2 separate regions of the Homo sapiens genome follow, and region 2 is linked to region 1. The links are contacts of gene promoters, found by promoter capture Hi-C in human tissues and cell types (Jung and others, 2019). All regions are on one chromosome and are shown on one strand. The core of a region is centred on a gene start or on the middle of the fragment in contact, and the rest is flanking DNA. Distances in the headings are between cores, read along the strand shown. Region 1 holds the start of CARD11 (caspase recruitment domain family member 11). Region 2 overlaps CARD11 (caspase recruitment domain family member 11).

Region 1 (2,970 bases), core at 154-2,653:
GGGCTTTTAGTGCATCAGTCACTGGAATAGTGCACATTGTACAGTATACATTGTACCCAATAGGTGATTTTTCATCCCCTACCCCCTCCCATTCTTCCCCCTTCTGAGTCTCCAACGTCCATGATCCCACTCTGCCTGCCTTTGCCTACCCATAGCTTAGCTCTCGCTTTTAAATAAGAACATGTAGTATTTGGTTTTCCACTCCTGAGTTACTTCACTTAGGATAATGGCCTCCAGTTCCATCCAAGTTGCTGCAAAATACTTTATTTCGTTCTTTTTTATGGCTGAGTAGTATTGCATGGCGTGTGTGTGTGTATCACATTTTCTTTCATCCAGATTTTTGAGTCTGCAATCCATGTAAACCCTTGGGACCATCCCACCCATGACGATGGCCATTTGGGGTAAATTATTAAAATGATGACATCCAGCTGGGCGCAGAGGCTCATGCCTGTAATCCCAGCACTTTGGGAGGCTGAGGTGGGCATATCACTTGAGGTCAGGAGTTCGAGGCCAGCCTGGCCATCATGTTGAAACCCCATTTCTACTAAAAATACAAAAATTAGCCAAGTTTGGTGGTGCACGCCTGTGGTCCCAGCTACTCGGGAGGCTGAGGTGGGAGAATCGCTTGAACCCAGGAGGTGGAGCTTGCAGTGAGCTGAGATTGTGCCACTGCACTCCAGCCTGGGTGACAGAGCGAGACTCCATCTCAAAAAATAAAAATAAAGTAAAATGATGACATCCAAATCACAGTTTCTCTTACAAGTATACTTCACCGGAACATCGAGGGCACAAGCTGATGGTGGGTGTCTTGGACCCCAAAGCTGTCGGGGTGAGGAAGGCCTTTGAAGGGGTGCTGACCACCCGGCATGCCCAGGAAGCTTCCAGAACAGGGGCTGAGGGAGGAAAGAGGCTTGGGGTGTAGGAGGCTGCAGGATTTGATGTGGGGCACCCCGTTCCCCTCCCATTGCAGTGACAGGCTCTGGAATTTCTTCAGAAATTCAGCTAGATCTCGGGAGCCAGTGCCCTGGAGAACCTAGAAGGGAGAGAGCCCCTCCCAAGGCCCCACCTGGACTCTGCCGGGGGTCACGGCTGGGTGGGGACTGATGCCCAGACTGGTCCAGCCTCACCCCGACTGATGCAGGTGGGCTGGGCCCTGAGACTCGCCTTGGTCTCCCCATCTCCGGCTCCCTGATCTGTCCCCAAGCACCCCCACCCCCGGCCCTGTCCCCACTCCCACCCCCACCTCCTTGCCGCCCTCCTCCCGAAGCACCGACTCCGCCCCCTCCCTCTCTTCCTTATCTTTTTCTAACCTTTCGCATTTTTTAGTCTCATTTCCTGTCGGGTTTTGCATTTCCCTCCCCCGCCCCTCCCAGCCTATGACATACTTTCTCTCCTTTTTTCTCTCCTGCCTCCTCTGGCCTTCGGACTCCTGCCCGCGCCGCCCGCAGCCCCCTCCCGGCCCTGCAGCCCCTGGGCGGGCGGCGCCCCTCGGAGGACGGCTCCGGGCCCGGGGGGACGGAGGGCCTGGTCGCCTGGAGGAAGCCGGAGGCCTGCGTGGAGGAGGCGCCCCGCGCAGCTGGCTGGCGGAGCATGAGCGCCCCAGGTAGGCGCAGCGGGGATGGGGGAGCTGGCGGAGGGGGAGCACGAGGCGGGGAGTTGGGGGAAGAGAAGAGGGCACGGGGAGGAGATGGGGGGCATCAGTGAGATGACACGGTGGCGGGGGGGGCGTCGGGGGATGGGAGTGGCTCCCGCTGGTCCCGCGATGCTGGGGGTATCCTTCCCTCTCCATCTCTGTCCCCCTGCCCCCCTTCTCTCTCTCACTCTCCTCTCCCCTTTTTCCCTTCCAACCCTTTTTCTCCCTCACTTTCCACCTCGTGTGCCTCTCCTCCGTGTCTCTTTGAGCGTCTCTGAGTATCACCGCCCAGCAAAGCCCCCACCTCCTCCTACTGGACAGGAAAAAATCGGGGGTCAGGAGGCTGCAGCCCCTTGGTGCACCTGCCCCAGAGGGAGGAAGAGAAACTTTTCTGACACCTGAAAGGCCCGGAAGTTTGCAGACCACAGCCCAGCCTGACTCAGAGGCTCCTGGGAAGGTGGGGCCTGGCTCAGGGAGGAAGGGCAGCCGCACCAAAAGTGGGTGTGGAGCTGGGAGATGGGAGAGGACAGCCCCCCGCGGGGACTGTACTAGAAAGGGGGTGGCGGGGGCACAGGAGAGGGCCCAGGTTCCCGACTGAAACCCGGAGCAGGTCCTAGCGGCCTCAGGCCTGAAAGCCACCTCCCCCAGGAGGCCCCTCCAGGCCCGATGGGGCCACCAGGCCTTCTGCTGAGCCCCCTCTGCAGATAGGGGCAGAGAGGGTGTTTCTGTCCCTCGGGGGCTCTGAGCACCGCTGGAGGCTGTCACGGGGACCCAGGTTCATGGACAGTGGTCTCAGCTGTGAGCTTCGGGGCTGCCCACACAAACTTGGTCTTGGACCAAACTGACCTCTCTCTGCCTGGCCTGCTCTCAAAGCCTTTGATTTGTAGTTCAAAACATTTTCTCCTAATATTTATGACTCGTCTTGAAGGTATAAGGTTACCAACCTACCAGAAAGGGGAGAAAAATAGTCGATCGTTCATTCCACATTTATTGAGCGCTCAGCCTGTGCATAATGCGTGCCGGAAATCCCGGGAGCCGGGAATTGATATGAGGACAGGAATTTCTCCGTAAGTGTCCACTTCTGCGCTTTCGCGGAAACTCCGGTTCTCTCCCCAGCAAGGCATCTGTAAAGAGATGACACCCCTGCCTCAGGCCAGGGCTGCCCTGAGGAGCGCAACAGTGACCAGGACTCAGCGTAATTCAAGGCCAGGGAATGCTTGGACCCGTGTGGATGTTACTTGCCTGGGTATCAGATAGGCAGGCCGTGGCTCCACTGGCCCCAGCAGTCTTCTGTTAATGCATGAATGGTCCTTGATGTGATTTTTTTAAAAATCGTG
Region 2 (2,970 bases), core at 308-2,807, 41 kb after region 1:
TGTGTGTATATGTGTATACACACACACACACATATATATATATATGAAGGCGTGTCTTAGATAGCTGCAGAAGTGACTATTGAGATTATCCAGTGTTTCCCTACCTGGGAAGGCACGTGGTATCTTCACGGTGGGCTGTGGACTTAAGAAGCTGCTGACCTCTTAGCTCGCCCAGACCTCTGTGCCATAGTCAGGGTCTGGTTTCTTCAGCTCACCAGAGTTCCACGTGCGGTTGGTCTGGTCTTCCAGACGTTCATGGATGCTGCCCTTAGTTCTGTGCACATCCAGCAGTTTTTCTCAGCTGCCTCCTTCCCCCTTGGCCTCTCTTGCCTGCGTGGACCTCTGCGTGGCCCCACTCTGGGTGGTCCTGGATCTCACAGTGTCCCTTTGCCCACAAATACTCCCTCGCCCAGGGACTCTGAATGTGCCATCCCAGTGGGGACCCCACATTCCGTCTCCATGGTAACCAGCAGGAAGCTGGTGATGGATGGGGGCCTGGCGTGGAGCATATTGCAGTCCTCAGATACCATCACTTCCCACAGAGTGAGTCCAGGCAGGGAAGAAATGACTGGGGGGAGCGGGGAAGAAGAGGTCGCAGCAGCACCTTCTGGCGCTGATCGGACGTGGAGGCATCATTCCCGTGCCCGTCTTAACTTCGGGTTCTTGCCAAAACCCACCAGTAAGCTGATGCTGCAATGGGGTAAGGCTAGAGAGAGGCCCTTCTGGCAAGGAATTGTTCTTAATAGGCCAGGCTGTGATGATGAGTTAGGCAGGAGACTAGCAGACCACCTTGTGCCATCTGCTGCAGTGTTCGTGGCCTCTCAATGACTGTGGGGCGTCCTTTACTGTAGAGTTAGAATCAGATCGGACTCTTCCACACAGTTGGTGGTTGTTATTGAGCTCTGGGCCAGGCACTGGATATATAGGAGTTGTTGACATCAAATAAACTGTAGAGACGAATCTCTGCAATTCAGAAGTTTTACTTGAGAAGTAAGAACAGCAATTTGGGCTGGGCACGGTGGCTCACACCTGTAATCCCAGCACTTTGTGAGGCCGAGGGGGGAGGATTGCTTGGGCCCAGGAATTTGAGACCAGCCTGGGCAACATTGTGAAACCCTATCTCTACAAAAAAAAAAAAAAAAAATTAAATTAGCCGCGAGTGGTGGCACACGCCTGTCGTCCTAGTTACTCAGGAGGCTGAGGTGGGAGGCTCTCTTGAGCCTGGGAGGTCAAGGCTGCAGTGAGCTATGATGGGGCCACTGCACTAGAGCCTGGGCAACAGAACAAGACCCCTCAAAAAAAACAAAGAATTACAATTTTTGACGTACACACAGACCTGGGTGGTCTTCGTTATGTCCAAAGAACAAAGGTTTGAGGTTTTATTTTTAAAACAGAAGTGTTACGTATTGTTCTTTAAGTTGACCGTCACCAGTGAAGTTTTGGGGAGCTGGCAAGCCCCGATTGGTGAGTGACAGCGGTGGGTAAAACTAACCTTACAGTCATAGCAGATTGTTTCAGTAGCTGTTAGAGAAAACTGGTTTCAGGTTACGGCTGGCAGTGTCCGCAGCCCGGGCTTGCAGAGAATTTCATTTCTGGAGCCATGTTATGTGTCCCGGGTGCTTTTTACCTCCACCCCTCCCAACTCTGTTTTAGGTGGGTGTGATAAGAATGACCCAATTTGCCAGGTGTGGTGGCTCACATCTGTAAATCCTCGCATTTTGGGAGGCCGAGTGATACGGTTTGACTCTGTGTCCCCACCCAAATCTCATGTCCAGTTGTGACTGAGTGTTGGAGGAGGGTCCTGGTGGGAGGCGACTGGATCATGGGGAGGGATGGACATCCCCCTTGCTGTTTTCCTGACAGTGAGTGAGCTCTCACCAGATCTGGTTGTTTAAAAGGATGTGGCACCTTTCCCTTCTCTCTCTCTTCCTCCCGCTCCTGACATAAATGTGCTGGCTTCCCCTTTGCCCTTCCACCATGATTATAAGTCTCCTGAGGCCTCCGCAGAAGCTTTTTGTTTGTTTGTTTGTTTTTGAGATGCAGTTTCATTTGTTTACTGTCTGGAGTGCAATGTCACGATCTCAGCTCACTGCAACCTCCACCTCCTGGGTTCAAGCGATTCTCCTCCGTCAGTCTCCTGAGTAGCTGGTACTACAGGCCCGCACCACCACGCCCGGCTAATTTTTGTATTTTTAGTAGACAGGGTTTCACCATGTTGGCCCGGCTGGTCTCGAACTCTTGACCTCAAGTGATCCACCCGCCTCGGCCTCCCAAAGTGCTGGGATTACAGGCATGAGCCACTGTACGCGGCCTATATGTTATTCTATGTATTTAAAAACATTATTCTGAGCTGGGCACAGTGGCACACACCCATTGTTCCAGCTATTCAGGAGGCTGAGGCAGGTGGATTGCTTGAGCCTAGGAGTTTCAGACTGTAGTGTGCTGTGATCACGCCTGTGAATGGCCAGTGTACTTCAGCCTGGGCAACATAGCAAGACCCCATCTCTTAAAAACAAAAAAACACCACATTATACGGGAAGTAGTCCCAGATGAGTTCAAGAAAGATACAAAGTGCTGTCCCTGAGAAAGGGCTTCCTGTATTGGAAACACCTTGGGTGGTTCCTACAGTGGAAGGAGTGGCCCAGCATGGGAGGCAGAGGACTGACCTACGAGGGTCCAGGTGGCCAAGGAAAGTGGCTGCCCAGAAGCCCCAGGAGTGAGGCTGCTGTTCTTGGGGCAGCCGCAGAGCAGGATGAGGATTGCCACGTTCAGTCCTCAGTGGGCCTGGAGGAACGTGAGTCGCCGTGTGTCAAATGGGGAACAGGATTGCCAGAGAGCTCTTGGATTGCAGGAGAAGGAACAGCTTCGTTAGAAGGAAGCAATTCTATTAACTCGCATGCATGTCTCTTGATGAGCTGGCCTTCTCTGCTTGAAAACCACTGGGAGGGAGAGAAGATGGAGAAAGTTCCA

What was found. Contacts are between HindIII fragments. The study calls those that stand out against the background at their distance.
Region 2: a fragment that was not itself captured here is called in contact with the fragment with the promoter of CARD11 in region 1 in 1 of the 25 tissues and cell types used here (pancreas).

What each region holds. Positions count from the first base shown.
Region 1 is chr7:3,042,300-3,045,269 of GRCh38, reverse strand. It overlaps CARD11 (caspase recruitment domain family member 11), which reads left to right and starts at 1,403. Exons shown (of 25, transcript NM_032415.7): 1 at 1,403-1,603. RefSeq lists an enhancer at 1,181-1,475 and a silencer at 1,341-1,690. The HindIII fragment of the contact is 17,820 bases long and covers 1-2,970 here.
Region 2 is chr7:3,001,625-3,004,594 of GRCh38, reverse strand. All of the region lies in intron 1 of CARD11 (caspase recruitment domain family member 11), which reads left to right. Among named protein-coding and RNA genes, the nearest start is that of CARD11, 41 kb to the left of the region's middle. The HindIII fragment of the contact is 4,607 bases long and covers 1-2,970 here.